Regions from separate parts of the Homo sapiens genome. Here regions 1, 2 and 4 are each linked to region 3. Evidence: promoter capture Hi-C in 16 types of primary human blood cells and fetal thymus (Javierre and others, 2016). All regions are on one chromosome and are shown on one strand. Each heading gives the region's core, a stretch centred on a gene start or on the middle of the fragment in contact. The rest is flanking DNA. Distances are from core to core; before and after follow the strand shown. Region 1 overlaps COL1A2 (collagen type I alpha 2 chain). Region 2 has its middle 50 kb from the start of COL1A2. Region 3 holds the start of PON3 (paraoxonase 3). Region 4 has its middle 38 kb from the start of CASD1.

Evidence for each region. Contacts are between HindIII fragments. The CHiCAGO score rates a contact against its expected background, and 5 or more counts as called.
Region 1: a fragment that was not itself captured here is called in contact with the fragment with the promoter of PON3 in region 3 in 1 of 17 cell types (total CD4 T cells); the score reaches 5.3 in total CD4 T cells.
Region 2: a fragment that was not itself captured here is called in contact with the fragment with the promoter of PON3 in region 3 in 4 of 17 cell types (total CD8 T cells, total B cells, M1 macrophages and 1 more); the score reaches 5.9 in total CD8 T cells.
Region 4: a contact is called between a fragment that was not itself captured here and the fragment with the promoter of PON3 in region 3, in 1 of 17 cell types (megakaryocytes). The highest score is 5.4, in megakaryocytes.

What each region holds. Positions count from the first base shown.
Region 1 is chr7:94,423,337-94,427,318 of GRCh38, reverse strand. It overlaps COL1A2 (collagen type I alpha 2 chain), which reads right to left. Exons shown (of 52, transcript NM_000089.4): 41 at 2,876-2,983; 42 at 2,095-2,202; 43 at 1,656-1,709; 44 at 1,462-1,569; 45 at 1,268-1,321; 46 at 789-896; 47 at 258-311; 48 at 24-131. Among named protein-coding and RNA genes, the nearest start is that of COL1A2, 30 kb to the right of the region's middle. The HindIII fragment of the contact is 1,131 bases long and covers 1,592-2,722 here.
Region 2 is chr7:94,441,488-94,448,089 of GRCh38, reverse strand. No RefSeq gene overlaps it. Among named protein-coding and RNA genes, the nearest start is that of COL1A2, 50 kb to the right of the region's middle. The HindIII fragment of the contact is 2,249 bases long and covers 1,701-3,949 here.
Region 3 is chr7:95,392,206-95,398,267 of GRCh38, reverse strand. It overlaps PON3 (paraoxonase 3), which reads left to right and starts at 1,893. Exons shown (of 9, transcript NM_000940.3): 1 at 1,893-1,991; 2 at 3,554-3,624. The coding sequence starts at 1,918. LOC107986822 (a long non-coding RNA gene) reads right to left here and starts at 1,796. Exons shown (of 2, transcript XR_007060439.1): 1 at 1,240-1,796. The HindIII fragment of the contact is 14,130 bases long and covers 1-6,062 here.
Region 4 is chr7:94,468,686-94,475,059 of GRCh38, reverse strand. No RefSeq gene overlaps it. Among named protein-coding and RNA genes, the nearest start is that of CASD1, 38 kb to the left of the region's middle. The HindIII fragment of the contact is 3,609 bases long and covers 3,143-6,374 here.

The DNA of each region.
Region 1 (3,982 bases), core at 908-3,407, 970 kb after region 3:
TTATTTCCCCAAATCATACTTACAGCAGGGCCTTGGTGACCCTGAGGGCCTCGAATGCCAGCAGGTCCAACTGTACCAGGATGTCCAGTGCGACCATCTTTTCCAGCAGGGCCAGAAGGACCAGCAGGGCCCTAAGGAAGACAGACACCAGGTACATGTGAGCTGGTGAATCCCACCAAGGGAGCAGCAGCCTGGGGCTCACTGCTCGCTTTAGCCTCTATTTCAGAGATGAACTGTCTTCTCTTGAGTCCACCTACCCTAGGACCAGCAGGACCCACGGAGCCAGGAGCACCTTGATCACCATGGTGACCCTTTAAAGACAGAAGAGGAAAATCACACTTTCAGAGCACATGTCAAGAGACATATTTTTTTTTTTTTTCCAAATTGAATGGGAAACTTTAGTTAAATGGACTCCGGATTGAGAAAATTGAAAATGTAAAGTGGGGCTCTTTTCTCCCATTATGTCTATTATATTCAATTTTTTTTTCACAACCTATTTCAGCAGTGCAATATTAGTCATTCCTCTAATTATGTTTATTTTAAGTGGGGTTGAAGGACATTGTTACCAGGAGATTTTATTGTATGTCTATTTCTATCTCCCTTAATCCTCACCTTTCATGTTGGTATGAAATAGCATTACCTCCAAGAGTGAGATGGAGTTAGCCAGAGAATGGGAAATGGATATTATATAGGCTATACTGGAACAATAGCAGTGAAAATATGAAAATCCTTCTGAGCTGAAGGCCTTCAGGATCAGTTTATGTGCGAGATGGCTACAGTTTACTTACAGCGATACCAGGCAGACCTTGCAATCCATTGTGTCCCTTTAAGCCAGGAAGACCTCTGGGCCCCTTTTCACCGGGCTCTCCCTTATCGCCACGAATGCCTTGTGGGCCCTATAAAGAAACAGAAGGATGGATAAGACTTACCGTTTTAAAAAAATGGCACTCACTTCACCACAAATACTGCTTAATTCGTTTACAAAGGTAACTCAGGACATGTAATGGTTTAGCTAGGCTCTCACCTCTGCTGGTAATCTGCTTTAGTTGTGCTATCTGTAAAGTGGCTAGATCCTTGTAATTGTTTAATACAAACAAGCATAAGAGATTTAAAATAGCTCAAGTTATTTGTATCAATTCTCAGCATGGACTGAAATTTTTAAAAAATATTAAGTCTAGCTGATATATTGTTTATTTTCTTAACAGATGTTTTGGACTGATTCTCTCTAAATGTTAGTGTTGCAAAGAAATCTTCAGCATGTACATACACTAGGACCTCTTGGGCCAACAGCACCAGCAGGACCAACAGGACCAGAAGGACCCTGTGAAATGAAAAAGAAAAACACAACTTAGCTAGGCCCAAGATACCCCTCCCCACTCCTCCACCATCCCCAAGTGTGGGGAAGTCAGAAGTGAAGCCCACGAGAATGCTGCACTGAGGGACTGGTATTCACAAACTTACAGTTTCACCACGGTTTCCATGTTTGCCAGCAGGACCCACGGGGCCATGAGGACCAGGTGCACCTGCAGCACCAACGGGACCAATATTGCCAGGGTAACCGCGCTCTCCCTACCAAAGGCAAAATGAAGCTTAGCATCAATCTGGGTTGCATTTTAATCACTTTTGAATTAGAGAAAGATGAAAAGTGTACTGACCTTGTGTCCGGGTTGACCATCGCGACCTGGGGGACCATCGTTCCCAGGGTTGCCCTGTGAAGACACCACACAAATTAAGGCTGTTGGTGAGGCTCTGCTGCCTACCAGCCCCTATGTTGTAGCTACTCTGTCTTCATCACTTCCAGTGCTCAGTAACGAACCCTCTTTCAGACTGTTAAAACTAGGGATAAAAACCTGCCAACCTAGATATTTTTTAGAGATGTTTTAAATACTTGGGCCCAGTTTTGCAGTGTGCTATTGAAAAGCCCATTCTTTGGCCTAAGCAATTTTCATATTTTCAGTACTAGGTGTAGATACTATGGAGAAGCTGACCATCTTGTTCAGAAATTTGGAAGAAGAGAACCTCAGCTCAGGACATAAAGTTTCACACAATGAAATCCTGCTCAGTTTTATTTTACAAACCAAGTGTTGGACTCACATCACGACCAGCTTCACCAGGAGCACCGTTGACTCCAGGACTACCCACAGCACCAGGAGGACCACGGGCCCCAGGAGGGCCGGCAATGCCAAGAGGACCAGGTTCACCCTAAACAGGCAGAGAAGATAAAATGACATTCCCCTTATTCGATGGAATGCTAACCTTCCCCTCCAAAACAACCCTACTCAGGAGATTCTAGTTTGAAGGAAGAAGGTAAATTGAATGTGAATGGGTCACACAATGGTAAGAAGTATCATTAGTATCATCTCTGCCCTCCTTCTCCACATGTAGATGGCCAGCTTTATGTAATCACGGGATGTTGCTCTGTAAAAAGTGAGCCTCGTGTCATTCAGTATCCCAAATGAAATGAATTCAAAAAGTTGATATATTTTATGGAGATGAGATGGTTTCTAGTTGTTGTCACGTATAAGGTTTAATGGAACGATTCAGAACTTCCAGAGTTTCATTCTTCCTACAGGATAAATGATGCCAGCATTTCATATTGCAGAGGAGTAAACGCAATTAGAGATTGTATCATTCCTAAGTGCGTGGAAAGAACAAAAATCATTCTGCATAATTTTAAGCTGTGTCTTTATAGTGTGTGTCTAAGTAAGGTGGTATTAAAGCTTCTTAGATAAGTGACATGTGATCTGTATAAAGAAAATGCCATGAATAAAAATCTTAAGTGAAGTTATTCAGTGATCAATCTGTCACATTTGAAGTGGCAGCTTTTAAAATCTTTTCTTATGTTAATGGAGTCAGAATACTGTCAAGCACTCACCACAGCACCAGCAACACCTGGTAGACCACGTTCACCTCTCGAGCCAGGGAGACCCAGAATACCAGGAGCACCAAGAAGACCCTGAGGACCTGGAGTGCCAGGAGGTCCCTAAATAGAGAAAAAATACTGAGTATTATGGGTAAGACCCTAGGTGATAACACAGGTTGGCTTGAAGATTGTGAGAATAAACTGTCTTCAGCTTAGAAAAAGGCTAATGACCTCCTATTACTAGGACATATCCTTGGATATCTTTTCTCTAGTGATGACGGTGAGTTTACATCTTGGCATGAATACTTTTGTATCTGATTCATCCTTGAGACCAATGGCACAACATTTAAAAATATGTGGTTGAGATTTATAAAGACACTTGGGGTGGTGAAATAGAGTTTTTATAGCCTCTAGGCAGGGAAACAAATAAAAAAATTTAAATTGTTATGGATACATAATAGTTGTACATAGTAGGAGGGGTTCCTCAAAAAACTAAAAATAGAACTACCATAAGATCCAGCAATCACACTGCTGGGTATATACACAAAGGAAAGGAAATCAGGCTGGGTGGGGTGGCTCACATGTGTAATCCCAGCACTTTAGGAGGTCAAGGTGGGTGGATCACCTGAGGTCAGGAGATCGAGACCAGCCTGACCAATATGGTGAAACCCCGTCTTTACTAAAAATACAAAAATTAGCTAGGCATGATGGTGTGTGCCTGTAGTCCCAGCTACTCGGGAGGCTGAGACAAGATAATTACTTAAACTGGGGAGGCGGAAGTCGCAGTGAGCTGAGATCGTGCCACTGCACTCCAGCCTGGGCAACAGAGGGGAACTCCATCCCAAAACAAAAAAACAAAAACAAAAACAAAAAACAAAAACAAAAAGGAAATCAGTAAAATCAGTATATCAAAAGGAAGCAAATTTTGACTTTGGCCTCTAAGGTCTAATAGGGGCACCTTTCAGAGTAGCACTAATACTGGACAGTGTATGTTTAAGAAATTGGTAGCCTACTGAGATTGATTAATATGTAGTAGGATGGCCACAGCAATGGGACTCTGTTCTAATCCTGGTACCAGTAAGGTGCCTTCAATAGCTTTAAGGGCTTTGTGATAAAACT
Region 2 (6,602 bases), core at 1,576-4,075, 950 kb after region 3:
ACACATTTAACTTCAATACTAATCAAAAGATTGTATGTTTTTTAAAAATGAAAAGTTTTGCTATAAAATTGGCCAAGATTTAAAAGATTTTATTATATCCAATGTTATCAAAAGTACTTCATGTTATAAAACTATTCTGCTGCTTAAAATTATTTCTTAAGAAGATATATAATAACATGGAAAAATGCTCATATAAAATTTAAATTAAAAATAGAATTTAATAATAAAATGGTTTTTTCTATATCTGTCCAGAAGTATATATTCCAAAGTTTAAATAGTGATTATCTGTATTACTTGAGTTATTGGTGATAATTGGCTTCATTCATTTCTGTATTTTTTAAACTTTTTGTAAAAAAAATTGCAAGTATACAAACTGCTTATTAAATTTTCTTTAAAATCGGGGTATAAAATAATACATATAGTTTGATTAATATTTTAGTAAAAATGAAAGTGTGTGTATATATAATTACATATATTTAAAATTCATATGTGTATTAAAACATATTTTAGAATTTTAATAGTGATTATATGCATGGTTACTTATATGGTTATGTTTTTATGGTTTAAGTAGTGGTTATAGGTGGCTATAGGTGATTATTTTCTTCATCATTCATTTTGTGATTATTTCACTACAGATAAAAATGTATGTGATATATGTATACATTAAAAATTATCTTTAGAAAGATACTTAGTAATACGAAAAAACATTTATGAAAACTTTAGTTAAAAACACAAAAAAACACAACCTAATATATGCAGCTTGTTCACAATTTGGTAGAAATGGAAGCACATGTCTATTTTATTCGTATGTGTATATGAATAGATTTTAAAAACTTGGAAGGGCATGTTCTAAAGTTTTAATTGTGATTATAGTACTGTGAATATAGTGGATAGTTTTCTTCTTCATTCATTTCTAACTTTTTAACTAGAAATCATAAAGCCTACACATATATATCATACACATCAAATTGTATACATTAAATATGTGCAGTTTATGCCAATTATATCTCAATAAAGCTGATAAAAATGTATAATGCTGTTCAATAAAACAAGTTTATTGTTTATAAAAAGAAACATGAATAATTTTAAAACACAAAATATTCACTTTTTACTAGCTCAGTGCCCATTTGTACGGTTGGTTCAAAAGTAATTGCGGTTTTTGCCATTAATTACTTTTAATACAATACCCAATACATTTAAAAATATTTGTTCGCTAGCATTTGGCACAGTTATGAAATAGCATTTTAAACAGGTTTTAAAAGTTTGGATCTGCACATTCTTTGCAAGGTTGGTAGGGAGGGGTGAGTGGGGTAGAATATTACTACTTATCAAGATATGTTAGTCCCTAAAAAGAAATGAATATCATGTCCAAGAAGCTGACTACTTTGTGGAAACATTCAGCTATTTATTTTTTCATTACAAGACGGTGATTTCTTATGATTAACAGATTTAAGTAAGCAAGCAAGCAAGCATGATGTGAATTTTCAAAAGAAACCACTAATTTAGATCCTACCGTCTCTCGTTAACATGTCCTGTGCTGAAGTATTAAATTTATTGATTACGTGAACTGTTAAATAGTCCATCTGCAATGCAAATGTAACTTTAAAATTAAAAATCTGACATCAATTCATTTTTCTCAAGAGACTTCAGAACTAAATTAAACACTTGATATGAGGCAGCCAGCCTTTTCTGATAAAGCTTTCAAATATCCGGCATGTTAAAAGTGTGCTGCTAGGTATGTGAAAGATGGCACTAGGCAAAGAATGACAGTCTCAATCATTTTTTAATAAAGGAAAATACACAGCTCTCCTGTGAAGCTGCATACTGCTTGACTGGTGGGCAATACTAATATGTATTCAGAGATATGATGATGTATCTGCTTGTCTTGCTGAGCTGTGCAGAGACGTCTTGCACAGATGCTCCCATGTGATAGCTGGCTGTATAGTTTGGTCTGCCTTCCTTGCAAGGCTCACAGTCTAAAACCCCAGCAGCTAATTTTTAAATACTAATGCATAGCACAGACCTAAGAATGAATAGAAATACTCATCCCTGAGGCATGTCATGAGTTGATTATAATAAAAATTGCTTAATTATTTATTGGTAGTTGCTTTATAAATTACTCTCTGGTTTTGCTGGAGGGCATAAACTGTGAGATGGGAGAAAAGAGTTAGAGAGCTGAAATAGTCAGGGGACACTGTGGTTAAGGGTTTCCCATACTACACAAATGCCTTTGGACTTTATCCTGCAAGTGCTGTGGAAACAGGAATCTTTTAACAGGGAGTTGAAAGGTCAGAGTTGTGTTTTCTCTGTGTAATGGAAGATGGATTTGAGGGGAACGAGAAAAGAGGCAGGTAGTAACTAGTTAAGGTGAAAGGCTGAAGTGAAAAGTTGCAGTACTGCCGAAAAAGAAGGGAGGAAGCCCCAAAAACAAAGGCTAAAGAAGTAAAGCTATAGAAAAACATTTAGGAGGATATGGTAGTTGATTGGATGTGAGAACCAGAGGTAAAGGAGAGGAAAGAATTGTATTTTCTGTTTTGTATAACTGGGTAAATAGTAGTAACCCCTTTAGCTGATACTGAAATCACAGGTGCTAATGCAGATTAGAAGAGGAAACATTAAGTGGCTGATTGACCTACTTTTCCTGATGCATGCATGCAGTCACTCAGCAATTTTATAAGAGCAATTGTATAGACAAACATACAATAAACAATGACAGCAAAATTATAAACAAAGTGCTCCAACTAAATCACAAAGGGCCAGGAAAACATGAGAATCTTTTTATGAAGCTCATATTAGGGACATGGACAAAGATGTAACAATTAGATTATATTAATTGTATTTGTTATGTTGCAATGGGAATGATTTTACTTGCTATAATAATGAGCTCTGTTATAATGGGTATTCTCCTTGATCTCACCTATTCATTCATTAGAATGAGGTTTTATTCTTTTCCTTTCACAGAGTAAATATACAATAAGATCAAATAAATTTTGATGATTGCCAACAGATGGTGAGGGGCTCAACTTGAGGACCATCTGATCTTTGGCTTTTCAGTTCTTTCCGGCTGTTCTTTCTACTTAATTACCTTCCCCTCACTTCCTAATCCCTTCCATGTAATTCTACACCAAGACTGGGTCTAGCACTATTAATTTTCCACAGCCTACGCTGTTTTCTGATAAGATATTCTTTCTTAGCTGGTTGCTAATGGACCTAAACAGTCTGGTTTTAGCAGAACCTTTCAATCCTATTTGAATCATGTCTTTGCTCAATTTATTAATTCAGTTTAATGCAGAGAATTTAAAACTTACTCTTACAATTTAATCTCATTTCAAATCTGACACAATGAATCAACCACCAGTGATTTTACATAATCAAAGAACCATTTCAACTAACCTGTCTTTAAAATCCTTCTATGTGAGACATATATTTTTTTCAATCATTAAAACAGGCTTACTAGAGTGATATATGTGTTTCAGTAACAAATTTCCCTCATTACCTGAATGCATCTCTGCATCTTTTGAGAATGAAGCAGAGAAAATATTGCTGTAATAGATATTTTAACAATATATCACGGAAGCACGAAAGATTAGGAATGTCTAAACACTCAGAAAGGACCTCCTAGGGCAATTTTCTAAAGATTTTTTTATGTATATTTATATAATCCATATCTAGACAGAACCTTTTTTTCCTTGACAGGTGTATTTTAACAACCAGTTCAATATAAGGAGGCTGTCTCCGTGTTCTGTTCAATAGTCCCTAATAACACTGCTTTACCAAGGGAGACGAATAAAATTTTGTTGATTGAAACATACTGCGTCATAATGTGTTCTCATGTTTCCGTAATGTTTAGCAGTAATTTAACAAAGTGCTTGTTCATTTGAATCAGAAATTGTACATCAAAACTATATATTGTTCTACATGTAGCCTGCATTCATAATACAATAAAGCTTAGTTTTAAATATACCATCTATGTTTTGTGAATGCTAGTTAAAAATAATCCTAGTTTCTTCTGATAATGAAAGTAATATATGTTTATGTTTTTTTGAAAAATGCAGACAGATTAAAGAAAAAACCCTGGCAATATGCATCACCTCACTAGAGATAATGGTTATTAATATTTTTACATACATCCTTTCTGAATTTTTATGCATATCTGTAAAAAATAAAAATTTTTAAGCAAACTTGAACTTGTATGTAATGATTTACATGGATAATCACTGCACACATTAACTTAGATGAATTTTACTCTCTCTGTGTGTGAGACAGACAATAATTTAATTAAATTTTTAAAATTTCTCTTCATTTAGCTCATGAATATATGCTTTGGAATAAGCATGAGATGGGGGATAGGAATTTCTTTTTTCTTAGTCAATTCCAGTTTCTGTGTGTCTCACATGGTGTGTGCAACTTGCTACAGTGACTATGATTCTGATGGCAAAAATACATATTTTTCTTATAACATGGTCTATACTCAGGCCAACAACTTTCATGCACAATCACAGAAACAGCCATGTATTCTAATACTAAAAGAAAAACTGTGTGGAAGTTATGGTATTTGGTCTTCAACCTAGAGATTTTCAAGGGTAATGTTGATTATGCAAAACTTTTTCTCCATTATGTGCTGGTTTTAAAACCTAACTTCCTGCATGGGATGCAACTCCCCTGTAATCTATACTTGTTTATTTTAGCAAATAGCTATTAATTTTCTTCTATAAGTATATTTTGAGAACATTTAAAATACTGGATTGCAATCCATCAAATGGATGCACCATATCTACTTAAACCAATCCACTATTATTAGACATTTGGTTAATTTCCAATGTTTTGTTATAAATAAAGCTATGACAACTGTTGCGCTTGAGATATGATATGAGGGTCAGTCATTATATTTGCACATGGACTTAATGCTATTGTAGTGTCTTTCTTTCAGGCAATTTTATCACTCCCATGCTAAGATATAGGAAGAAGGGGGATGTGACTTCCCAATAACCAGCTGGGGGTTGCCTTCACTGGAAGAGAAGGCAATAAAACGGGATTTTAGAAAAATAACCTTTTGGTGTTTTTTGCAGACACCTTTCCATGACACCTGTTCAGAGGGTTGGATTTGCACATAGTCATGTGAACCAGTTCAAAGAGTGTATTTGTGTGGCTTTTTGAGAGCTGCAGTGCTCTAGTTCCTTCTGTCAGCTTTGCGCTGCAAATAGCCATGGCATTTCCCAAAGTTAGAAGACTTCTGTGATTCACGTGCTTGTTCCTCAGACCCACACAGCTCTCCCTCCAAGTTTAGGTTGCCCCAGACAGCTGCATTGGGGGACAGCTACGTGCTGTTCTGATTTGTGCAGTGGAGAGAAAACTTGAGTCTCACAGCTTTATGAGAAGCCTTCATATGGACTCTACTGGGTCAAAGTCTTTAGAAAAATCAAATATTAATTTATTAGCATTCATTCCTTGTCCAAGATATAAACATTTTTAAGGCTTTTGATACATACCGATAAATTTCTCTCTAGAAATTTTGTACCAATTTATACCACATCAACTGTAGATGAGAGTGATCTTTTGTCTAAACTCTTATCAACCTATTATTTTGAAAAGAAACAGCCAGAGATGAAGTGAGCTTTTTAACTTCGTGTTTCTTTAATTTCTAAAGTAACTGGACATTTTTTGTGCATTTTAATGAACTTTTGTTTTTTGTTATTGATGTTCTTTGTCTCCCCCAACCCCTCTTTTTTTCTGTACAAGCATTAAAAAATGATGTCTAAGAACTCTTTCTAAGTCTTTATCTAAAAACAAAATGCTCAAATTGCATGAAGAAGCATATATATATATATATTTTTTTTTTTTTCTTTTCTTTTTTTGAGATAGAGTCTCACTCTGTCACCCTGGCTGAGATGCAGTGGTATGATCACTGCAGCCTCTACCTCCTGGGCTCAAGCAATCCTCCTGCCTTATCCTCTGTAGTAGCTGTGAGTACAGGTGCACACCATCATACCTGGCTAATTTTTAAATTTGTGTAGAGACAGGGTCTCACTATGTTGCCTAGGCTGGTCTCAAGCTCCTGGGCTTAAGTGATCCTTTTGCTTCGGCCTCCCAAAGTGCTGGGATTATAGGTGTGAGCCACCAGGCCTGACCAACATATATATTTTCAAGGAGAAAGGAGTGCTAGGAAGAGTGTGAGATGGGTAGATACAAAGCAGGCATTCAAATACAAAGTATTTGAATTAAATTAAGTTTCTGTTTTATTGAGAAAAGTTATAAAACATTACAACTTTTGTGATGCAGTTTGTAATAGAGATGTTATTTATGGTCTTTCATACCCTTGCCCCCTTTAAAAATTGCCCACGCAGAGCTTCTGATGTCTAGGTGGCTATGTTTTATATCACACGACTCTCATGATGGGATACCTACCCAAATGTCAGCACTTACTAGGCTGTCTAGAGATTTATGAACTATATCAGAATCTCTCTCTTAGAAATCAAATAATAATAATGATGAAAGCCAATTAATAGCAGATATGAAAAAAACATGCAGAATGTGAATGAACCAGATTAGTGGTGAAGCTGTAGAGGAAAGAGTTGAAAAAGTCACAAACTCCTGCTCCTGAG
Region 3 (6,062 bases), core at 644-3,143:
TTAGTCCCATCAAACTTGCAGCAAGCAATTCACTTTACTTCTTTGTAGGTAAGGTTAATAAGAAGTAATGTGACAAGGCATGCAAACGCTGAGTGAAATAATAATATGACTATTATTATTTCATTATTCATTCCATTTATTTTTTATTCTTCTAATTTTTCTTTCTCCCAAGTCCATATTTTACATCCATCCATCTAATCATATTTATTGAGTCATTATTAAGCACAAAGTTCTATGGATGGCACGGGAAAACCCAGTGATCAATGCGATGGAGTCCTTCCCACAGGAGCCTACAATCTCAAGCAAAGTTCAGAATTAATTAGTGGTTAATCTTTACTGACTTCATAAAACGTATCAAGCACAGTGCAGAGCACTTGACACTCATTATCACATTTAATTTTAAGCTACCTATGAGGTGGACGTTCTTTTACAGAAGAGGAATCTGTAGCTCAATAAAGCTGAGTACTTTATCTAGGCTGGATCCAAACCCAGGCAGCCTGACTCCCAAACCCTGCATGCATGTCTACATCACACCCCAGGCCCCTCAGCTCTGTGAGCCCTCCTGACTTCGATTCCTCCTCTGCTTGCACTCTTTTAACATTAGTCATCTTAACAAGAACTCTAATCTATACAATTCAAGACGTTACACTGTCCTTTTAATACAACCCTTCTTCCATAGATTTTCTAGAGGCAGCATGGTAGAGGCAGCTCAGTTAAGGGCCCAGATTTTGGAGTCTGCTGCTTGACAGCTGCCTGACCTACAGCAAGCCACATAAGCAATCTGTGCTGCAGGTCTCACCTGTAAAATTGGGGTAAGGCTACCCACACTCCAGAGATTGTGTTGATAATTAAATGCGTTAACATAGGTGTCAGCACAGGCAAAGCACACAGTCAGTACTGCATAAGCGGTGGGCTTCATTATTCATCCTGTAATTACGTATTCATACTAGAATCATGTATCCCATAGGTCAGGGACCACCTTTTCTTTCCTTAATACCCCCAGGATTGGCAAATCTTGCTCTCTCAACAAATAGTTTACTCGGTGGAACCTAACAGAACTAATATTTCTTTCTGTCCGTAAATAAAAATAGATCATGCTTGAATGTGCTACTTTGCCCGAACTCCCCAAGTCTTCCCGCATCTTCAGTTCCTCCCCCTCCAACCTGGTGTTCATCAGGAGAGGGGAAAGAGCATTTCTTGCCTGGCAGGAACTCAAGACCTAGAAGAAAGAGGGCCTACCCTGCCAAGGAAATGACCTTCCCCTTCCTCGCCTCTGCTCCTCTTCCCGTTTCCTGTCTTTTCCTTCTTTTCTCCTGGTGTTTCCTTCTCCCGTTAACTATGGGGACAGACGCAGCTATTCACAAGTCCGTCTGGGCAGCACACTCCGAGGTAAGGCACGAAGGTCAGGAGACAGGTTCCCGTGCCCCAAATCCTGGAGAAGATGAGTTAAAGCTCTTCGCTTCGATTGCCTTCGCCCTTCCCGCGTCTCGGGAGCAATTCAGTGTCGCCTCACGTCTGGCCTTGCAGAAGTCCGGAGTTCCGGCTCTGAACTGGAGCTCCCCGCCATTCCCGGGCCCTCCGGTTTCTCCCTCAGGCCATCTGAGGAATTGAGGTAGGATTTCGCGGGTGTTAGGAGCAAACTCCCACCACAACTCGGTCCCGGGCTCCCTCTCCGTTGAGCCTTGACCTCTGCCCAAAAAACAAGGAATCGTGGGCGTGAAGGCGGCCTTGAACCCGGGCGGCGGGGCTCGGCGGGACTCGTCAGCGCCCTGCTGCGGCACCCGGGCCGCTCAGGTAAGTAGGAGGCGTGTGCGGGCGGGGCCGAGCGGGCCCCAATCCGTACGCGAGGCAGGAACCGCCCGCCGCGCCCCCGAGAGCTCTCGGCGCCGCGCAGTCGCCGCTGGGCACCCCGAGACCATGGGGAAGCTCGTGGCGCTGGTCCTGCTGGGGGTCGGCCTGTCCTTAGTCGGGGAGATGTTCCTGGCGTTTAGGTGAGTGGCATCTTGACAGGGCGTCTTCGACTCTCTTTCTCTCCTCTTCCAAGTGAGGTCAGGGGCTGCCTGGCGCCCCCTTCCTAGCGGGTAGGAAAGAGCAGCTTTGGAACCTCACTCCTCCATCTCACCCAGCAAACCGCCCCTTGAGACTCGCTTATGGGGAAAGTGAGCTACTTGCGTTTCCAAAGACTGCCGAGCCGAATTAGTCCCATTTATTTTTTGAAGGTTATGATCCCCCACTTTGCTTTCTGAAGGTCATGACCCCCTTTTACTTTCTGAACGTGATGACCCCTTTCCCAGCTCGCCCTCAACATTCTGCTTGGGAAAAAAGGACGTCCATTGGAAACGCCGGACTTGGGAGAGAGGATCAGGCTACCAGTTGGATGTTTACGGCTGACTGAGACATTGCCCAGGTCTGGCTAACCATGCAGAAGTACTGGGTTATGGAACCTATCCTAGATTTAAAGAGCTGGCCAGACAGCAGGGCAAACCAGCTGAAACCTGCAGGCGGTAACTGGCATTTTGTAGGCATTTGACCTTTTGAAGTGGAAGATACAATGGTGATAGCCAGCCTAGAAATGTCTCAGGAAAAGTCAATACTGGGCTAGAAAGAAGAACCTTTAAGTGATAATACACATTCATGAGTGGATCGAAAGCCTCTGCTTGCTTTCAGTTGTCTTTGAGTGTTTATGTATTTCTCTTAGTTGAAGCTGGTCTTCTTAGAGGATCACGTCTAGAATCTGTTGAGGTGCCTGGTGCCTATTAGTAATACTTCCAGTTTGAGAGTTTTATTGTTACATTTGCTCCCAGTGCAACCACATGGAGAATCATAAAATAATAGTAATAATAATAAAGTAGATCTAAGGGTATTTTTTTAAATAAATGACTGTAAGATAAGTATTGAGTCTTTCTGAATATACTTTAATAAAAATTTTAAATTATCCCTGATATTAGAAGAATGTGGAAACATTCCTTTTCACTCTGGAAACAAGAAAATTGTGTTGAAAAATAAATCGGCCAATTGTTTAAATTGTGGTTGGTTTAATGAATTTACATACTTGCGGAGTAAGTCAGCATAAAATTTAAAAATTAAAGCAAAAGTGATAGAGTTTGACTATTAGGAGACCCTGTTGAATTTTGGGAAAGCAGTTTGGAAGGAAAAGTTCAAAGGGCAAGACTGTAGGGGATTAAGTGCAGATTTATAACAGACGATACTTTAGAAAATTAGGGCTATTTCGTGCATTTAAATTAATAATATTGTTCAATTACTCATACTATTAAATAGTGTCTTTTATTTGGGCAGCAGAATTTTCCATGTTGAATCATATTATACAGTTTTTCAGCAATAACTGGGTAAGGTTAGCTGATATAGGTAAAATACCCACATAATGTCTACATTATGTAAATAAACATGAAAGGAAGTACCTACTTACTTGTTATGTCATTCATAAATTATGATAAAGATAGTTAACCAACACGAAGATGATTGAAGTCCACATTTAAACATACATTTTGAATGCTGTGCCTTGACTTCCAGGGTTGGGTTTTATCTTCTACAGAGAAAGGGTGAATGCCTCTCGAGAAGTGGAGCCAGTAGAACCTGAAAACTGCCACCTTATTGAGGAACTTGGTATGTATGTGACAGTACCAAGAGGAGCCAGCACAGCTTCTTGGTCGTCATCCACCTGACTGAGCCCTACCAGCTCATTTAATTACCTGTCACTACTTAAGCCCTCCCAGTGGGACATCTGCCCCGTCCACTCTGCCCCATGCAAGGTCTTCAGGGGTGTACTAAATGACATTCTTTGTGGGTTTTTCTCAGCACATTTCCTTACTGACATCTCTCCACATTACCTAAAGAATGTCATTGACCACTCCCTGGTTTTCCCCTCACTGAATGCTTCTCCTTTCCCATCTGTGGTATTTCACTCTCCTCCTTGTCCTCTGTTACCTTTCCTTTTTTTGCTTCTTTCTTCTTTCCTTCCTCCCTCCCTTTCCTTATTGTCATTCCTGGCTTCAAGTGTTATTTTTTTTCAAATAATATGACTCAGCCCCTCCCCTCAAGAACCTCACAGCAGGCTGGGCGCAGTGGCTCACACCTGTAATCCCAGCACTTGGGAGGCCGAGGGGGGCGGATCATGAGGTCAGGAGATCGAGACCATCCTGGCCAACATGGTGAAACCCCATCTCTACTAAAAATATAACAATTAGCCGGGCATGTTGGCGGCGTGTGCCTGTAATCCCAGCTACTCGGAAGGCTGAGGCAGGAGAATCACTTGAACCAGGGAGTCATCGGAGGTTGCAGTGAGCTGAGATCGCGCCACTGTACTCCAGCCTGGCGACAGAGCGAGACTTTGTCTTAAAAAAAATAATAAACGAAGGAACCTCACAGCCTACCTACCTTCTTTTAAAAAAATTCATAAAAAATCCATGGCCCAGTCCCTAACCTTTCAAACTGCAGCCCTTCTTTTTTAGTCAGTTAAAGGGCAGCTCCAGCTCAAACTCTCCCTAAGCTGAAATCTATTTTACATTTCTGTCGTTTTCTCCCTCATCCTCCCACCCACAACCAGCTCTGCTTCTAGACTTTTCCTATGTATGGTACCCCCATTCTCAAAAGATTCAGTTCAAAATCCAGGAACCATTGTTCCCCGCTTGTCCCTCATGCTTCTACGTGAGACATGGGCTAATCTCACCTACTAGTTAATGCCACACCTGCTTATTTGGGCTCCACAGCTCCAATTCTTCCTGACATTGCTAACAGAAAAATAAAATAAAATCAGGCTAGATTGTGTTCCCTGTTCTGGGAATATGTTCTTTCACCTTCTCACCTTTGCTTATGAAATTCCCTCCAAACTTACTGATTCCTCTGTCTCTGCTTACTAAAATCAGCTGCAAAATTCATCTCCTTCCTCTGAACTCTCACAGCACTCTGAAGCTCCGATTCACTTATGACACCTGCCACATGCCTTGTATTATAGCTAGCAGTGTTCTCTCTTTCACTATCAGATTGTAAACTCCCTAGGGCCAAGAACTGTGACTTATTTATTAGAATGTGATGAGATAGCTTATTTTGGGATATGATTTTCTATTTTATTGCTATATTTAAAAATACAGAAAAAGTACCCTTTTGATTTGAGTTTTCTGCCTTTTCTTGCCTCTCAATTTCTAAAAAATAAAGTAATCTGAACCTTGCACTCCCTAGTCTTAGAGGTGGTTTGTGCTAGCAGCTGGAAAGCAGAAGAAACCAAAGAAAACGCCTTTCCTGAATTGTTTTTAAAAACCTGAGCCCCTTCAAGGGATTCTGTTGGAGAAGGGATATGAATATGTGGATATCTTTGAATAATGGGGATCCTTACCCCACTGGCTGACAGCATTCTGGGAGAGGAGCAGGACCTCAGAAGGAATGGTTGCAAGGTATCTTTAGGGACGCTGGACCCTGTGTTCCAGCTAAGGTAAAGACCTTGTGTCAATGCATTACATGGAAGTAGCAGAATTGTCTAAATTAAAGGGACCAGTAACTTTGGCAATGAATAATTCGATGATACGTAGTGTAGAATGAATGCCAGATGGCCTTTCCAAAACATTCTGCTTAGGTTTAGAACCCACCACTTAAAATGATTTCATAACCCTAACAGACAAACCCAGTAATGACTCAGATTGGATTTTCCATCAACTTAGTGGAATAGGATATCAGAGTGATTTAATTTGATTTTAAAAATAAGGAAATGTGACATTTACTCATTTGTTTACTGTTTTGTGGTGTAGTAGTATTCATATTCACTATACAAATAACTGTCAAAATATATAAGCCTGCAAATAATCAAGAGGTATAATTAGACTAGATGATTGGTAGGGTCTAGTCTGACTCGAATTGTATCACTCAACTAGATTTGAGAAGGTAAAATTACAGTTAATATTGTGAGTCTTAGGTCAATGTTCTGATTTGCCAAATATTTTGAAGAAAATGGCTTAAATAGTTGGAAGCAGGCTGGGAGCAGAAGAAAGAAATGCCATGTTACTTCTCATGTCTATTGGCATATGTTTGGTGAACTAAACAAGTTAGAATGA
Region 4 (6,374 bases), core at 3,698-6,197, 930 kb after region 3:
CTTGTCTTTCAAATGTAACAGCTAAGGTTGTGATTACCTGGGGGCCCAGGGCATGAAATGAGAATACTAAAACAAGAGTATAAAATAAGGCAGATTGTTTTCCAACAGGAATTAGATATATAATTAAAATTATGTTCAACTTTTTAGGCATAGTCTAGATTTGACTATATCTGGGATACAGGACACAATAAATACTTTGTGTCTCTGACTAGCAGTGAAAACATCTAATTTTTAAAAATGTACCTTTAACTGTAATGTCCTATATTGTAAAGGCAATCAGCTAAACAGTAGATATGGGAATGGAATATGGTTAATATATACCTACACAGAAATTACATTTGGAAAGTGCTGATCACTTGGTTTTCAAAGAAGAGATGATGATTTGTTATAGTCACTACAGAGACATCACAGAAGCCATTGTATGTTTGTAGTTGAATTTAAGATACAGAAAACTCTGGTAAAGCTTTTCAAGTTGTATTCAAATCATTCAGTGAATCAGAGGTGAGAAATGTTCTAAATCAATAACCAGCATTCTAATGTGACTTTTATGTAATTCCTCAAGAGGAGGTCCAGGAGACTCAATGCAATGTGACTTCTAGTCAAGCCCAGACAACCTGCCACCCTGTTCTTCCAAAAGTAAAAATGAACACATGGGAAGGAGCAAAGCTACCCACTTGGGATTCTATTGCTTTTCACATGTTATTTTCCATTCTGCTTGCCTCCCCCACCAATTTCTCACCCCTGCTATTTCTTTCACTGCCAGTATGGCAGAGAAAAACAAATGTGGTATTGGTACATATTGGTGAATATTGTACATATTGGTACTTGAGTAAGATTTTCTATTTCTGTTCACAGTGCAAGGGTGCCTGCAGAGCAGGAAAATTTTTCTACAGTCTTAAGGGTCCCTTGGGCCAGATGCTGACTGATATCCTGCTGAATTTAGAAATTGTTATTTAAGATGACCTTTAAATACATTACTTTACAGATAATTAGGACATAAATTAGATTTCAAAGAACCAACATAGCAAGATGATTAAGGAATAAGCTCCAGAACAGAATCCTCATTCTTTATACACCTTATTCAGTATGCAACTGTGGGTAAATTACTTAACCTTTTTGTGCCTCAGTTTTCTCATTTGTAACATGGGGATAATCATAATGTCTACCTGATAGGCTTGCTGTGGATCAATATGTTGATATGTAAAGCATTTAGAACATGCCTGGCTCATGATTAATGCAATATAAGTGTTTGTTTTCTTAAGTCTGCAATCCCTTATGTGCAATTCTGAAATTGAAAAGCTGAAAACAATTGGTTCATCTTGTAGCAAACTCATTCAGTGGTAAGATCTGACCGGAACTGATCTGTGACAACTTATAAACTTCACTTATCCCACTTTGCATGAATATTCATATGTAGGATGGTAGAAGTATTAATGCGTTTCATTAAGAGCTACTGCCATACCCCTTGGGGTTGTTACATGAGATAATTCACAACTTACTTAGATCCAAGACATTCTGAATTCCAAAGGACATCAGGTCCCATGGGGTTTTCTAAGAAATTGTTGACCCATGTTGCTGTTATTTCATCTGATACGATAGTAGCACCATTCTTGTTTTTTATTTGTTAATGGTTTGAAAATGTGGAGGCTTTCATACATGGTGGAGTTAAATGACACAGTGATCTCCCAAAGTTTGGGAATGAAAATTCTGATTAATCAGATATTCTGACTAGTACAGAGTTGATTTATATATGATTAGCTATGGATTACACATTTTTAAAGAGTTTGTATTGAGTATCATCAATCCTAAAGCTTCCTTCAATAAGTGCAGCCAATATTAATTGAACACTTCCTTTGTACCAAGTGCTATGTTAAACAACTTACATGAAATTTCATTTAATTTTCTAAACAGGTCTGTAAAGTAAGCTTTTAAAATCATCATCTCACTTTACATGTAAATAAATTGAGAAGTCATGTAGGTAATCACTGAAACTCAAGCCCAAGTTTGGGCACTCGAAACACATGCTCTTATACATAAGTTGATTATATTTAAATATAAATTGATTATCCTTTGAAGATTCAGAAAGAATGACTCATGACATTATTGTGTTCCAAAGACATCATTAAGAACACTACTACTTATTATGATTGCATTTATCATGTCTTTTCTATATGCTAAACATTGTGCTATGAATAGAATTATGCTTCGATTGTGAGCAATTCCAGTTTTAAAAAGTTGATTCAAAACACCTAAACAAATATTGTTTCATTATTTCTATTCAGTTTCACTAGACTTGCTACTCTGTGGTTAGTGATTCAGAATGAAAAGTGAATAAAGCAAAGGTCTTGCTTTTTAGGAGATTATAATCCCAGGTAAAGTGGTTGCTCTGGGGGTTAATGTGTATAACTTTTTACTCTTAATTTAGAGTTAATAGGGTACCTAATTTAGAGTAAATAGGGACATTTAGCCTACACAAAATGTGGAAACTTTACTATCATATAGGCTTAATATTCCCCCACCTATCCTTTATGTGATATAATGATATGATCATATATCATGATGTATTGTGCATTATATATAGCACAATTATCATGTATGATTACATCCACATACACTATAAATCCTCAATAAGTTTTATAGTTTTTGACCTAAATACCTAGATATATTTTAAAGAGATTAAGTAGTAGTTTTTTATATTTACCCAGATATTATATTTCCAAGCATCTTCATTCCTTCCTGATGATCTGAGTTTTCAGCTGGTATAATTTCTCTTCAGTTTGAAGAATTTTATTTAGGATTTCAGCAGATTTGCTAGAAGACACATTTTCCTAGTTTTCTTTTATTTGAAAATTGTATTATAGTATTTCACTTTCAGTCCAATAGGATATATTTGCTGCATATGAAATTCTGAGTTGACACTTTTTTTCCAGAACTTTGAAGATATTTGTTTATGGAATTATGGCCTACACAGTGTCAGATGCAAAATCTGGGATGATTTGAACCTTATGTAATTATGTTATTCTTTTTCTGGCTTCTTTCAAGAGTTCTCTTTTTCTCTGGTTTTCAGCAGTTAAGACTACGATGTATTTACACATAGCTTCTTCATTTATCATGTTTGAGGGTCACCGAGCTTTTTCAAGCTTTATATTTATGCCTTTTACCCAATTTTGGAAAAATTTGGCTAATTTTTCAAATTTTTTTTGCCACATTCTTTCCTGTCATTCTGTGATTCCAATTATACATATGTTATGTCTTTTGATATTGTCTTAGAGTTCTCTGAGACTCTGCTCATTTTCTTCCAATCTTTTTAATTTTTTTGTCTATTCTTCAGATTGGACTATTTCTATTGTATTATCAAGTTCACTGACTAGTTGCTCTGTCATCTCTATTTTGCTGCTAAACCTATATAATGATTCTTTTTACAATTTCAGACATTTTATTTTTTAGTTTTAGAATTCGTTAGCTTATTTTAATAAATATTTCAAAATATTTCATATTTTATTTATCTTTACTGAGATTTCCTATTATTTTATTTATTGCTAACATATTTTTCCTTATTTCACTGACCATAGTTATAACAGCTACTTTAAAATCTTTGCCTACTAATTCCAACTTCTGTATCATCCAGGGTTGGTGTATATATTTACCAACATTAGTATAACAATATTCTATCTTTTCTGTCGAGAAAAGTAATACTTCCTGTTTTAAAAATATATTCAGTAATTTCTATACCCTGGGCACTGTCAGGGTTATATTGTGCATTCTTTTATAGTCTTCCAAAAGTTCTGATTTTTTTTTCAGATATTAAACTCGGGTGGACTCAAGCATCAAACGCTGTCTCTTGTGTGGCAGCTAAAATCACAGTTAATTGTTAAGAATCTTTATCTCGATTTTGTCTGGCAAGTGCATCATTTAGGAGTCAGCTAAAGTTAAAAAAACGTATATTGAGATATAATTTATAATTTTACATAGCATAAATTAACCAAATATAAGTGTACAATGTGATAAATTTTGGTAAATTTGTGTATTTGTGTAAAATTACCTCAATTCTGTTTTAGAACATTTCCATCACCCCCTAAAATTTATTTGTGCCCATTTGTTGTTAATTTCCACTCCCACCCATAGCCCTAGGCAACTGTGGATCTACTTCTGTGTGTATAAGTTTACCTTTTCTAGAAATTTTCTGTTAATAGAATGGTACACTATATAGCCATTTGTGTCGGTCTTCTTTCACTTAACATTTTTTTGAGGTTCATCTATGTTGTTGAATACATGAGCAGTCTACTCTTTTTCGTTGCTGAATAGTATTTTATTGTGTGCCTATACCTCATGTGTTCATCCATTCATCAGCTGATGGGCATTTGGATTACTACCAGTTTTGGGCTATTTTGAATAATGCTGTTATTAACATTTGCGTACATGTCTTTATGTAGATGTATGTTTTTATTATTTGCCTTATCTGCTTTTAAATCCAAGTATTAGATTCTTATTTCAGTTATCTTTTCAACTTCTACAATTTCCACTTTATTTTATTTAGTAGATTCCTTGTTTCTTATGAATTCTCCATTCTTTTCTCAATTTTCATGAACATATTAAACATTATTATTAGTTTATTATTGTTTGTAGAAACAAAGTCTCACTATGTTGCCCAGGCCAGTCTCAAACTCCTGGGCTCAAGCAATCCTTTTGCCTCAGTCTCCCAAAGCACTGGGATTACAGGCATGAGCCGCAACACCTGGCCATAATGTTATTTTGAGGTCTCTAATGATAGCTCCACTATTTGGGTCATCTTTACTTCCATTTCATTGTCAAATCTTTCCTAGTTTTTTGTTATATGTTCCAATTTCTTATCTTGCCTAACAATATTTGATGGAATACTAGAGATTCTGTATGAAAAATTATACAGGCCTTAGATGACGATATCTTTCCCCAAAGATAATTTAATTTCATTTTGGCAAGTAGATAGAGATATAACAGGTCACTTTTATCTAGTCAAGAGTGGATTCCAAGAGTGGATTCTATACTGTGATGGAACTGGTCTAGTTTTAATTTGCCTTTATTCCTTATTTTTTACTTCTAAGGTATAACCTTTTTATGGTCTCATGTGAAATCATGGGGGTGTTTCCTGGGTCCCCTCTACTTTTGTGAGCCCTGAATTATAATCTATATGCCCTTGGTACTACCATACTGCTAAAATCTTTGCTTAGCTCTTTGGCATACTGGTACTTTCTGCTAGATGTTTAGGAGTCTTGCTTTGTGTATATGCAGTTTTGGGGATGGCCACCCCTTGCAAGGAAATTGCATGCAGAATTTCACGCTTACTTTTATGTGTTTTCTTCCCCAAATTTTAACTCTATTACATGCCCTCACCCCCAAACTCTGTTTCTTCAGCCCAGTGAGAGTGTCGTAAGCCAGGTTTGTCTTTCTTTTTAATCTCTGTTTCTCTCAGATGCAAATTTGCAGATGTCTTGAAGGGAAATACAGGGCAGAATCTCACTTCAGTGTGTTTTCCTTCTCTCCCGGACTGCTGCTTCTCAAGTCCTGTCTGCTGGAAGTGCTCTTGAATGTTGTCAAACTATTGTTTCATGCATTTTATAGTTAACTTGGGCAAGAACTGCTCTGATATGAGCATTTCTGAAATAGCTGCAAGCAGAGTTTTCCCAATTATTTGGAAAAACATACAAGAAAATCCCTACTTTTTGCTGCAATATACTTCTGTAATATAATTCCGTCAAAGCAGTGAGTAATTTTTTTAATCAGATGCTTCTATGGTGCTTCAATTTAGAGTTTCATTTGTGACCAGAAGGCTTGACATCAAATAAATCCCAAGTTATAAATCAACTATAAAATTTACACAAGAATATAATAATTTAAAATTGTAAATGCAGGCTAGATTTCTTTGTGCAGCATAGAAAGGACCTCAACATATGTGATGTGTAATGTATTAAAGAAAAAATTTTATTGTACTAATATTGTGCTCCATTGTTAATATATCAGCTACTATTGGCATTTAGTTTATTATATTTTTATCTTAGAATGTAAAAAAAAATTAAGGAATGACAATTTGAGTGGCCCAGTTCTTTTTAAAAGGTCTCTAATACAGTTAAATTACTTGCTACATTTTATCTAAATAAGACCTTTATTGAGAATTGAATTATTTTATTAATCTTACTTCTAACCAAAAATATTATAGCACATAAAATATTTATTGATATTGCTGTTGATGACTATCAAGATGCTGCTTCTGCTAAACATTATTTTAAAAGTAATGATTGGCTGGGCACAGTGGCTCACATCTGTAGTCCCAGGATTTTGGGAGGCCGAGACAGGTGGATTGCTCTAGCTCAGGAGTTTGAGACCAGCCTGGACAACAA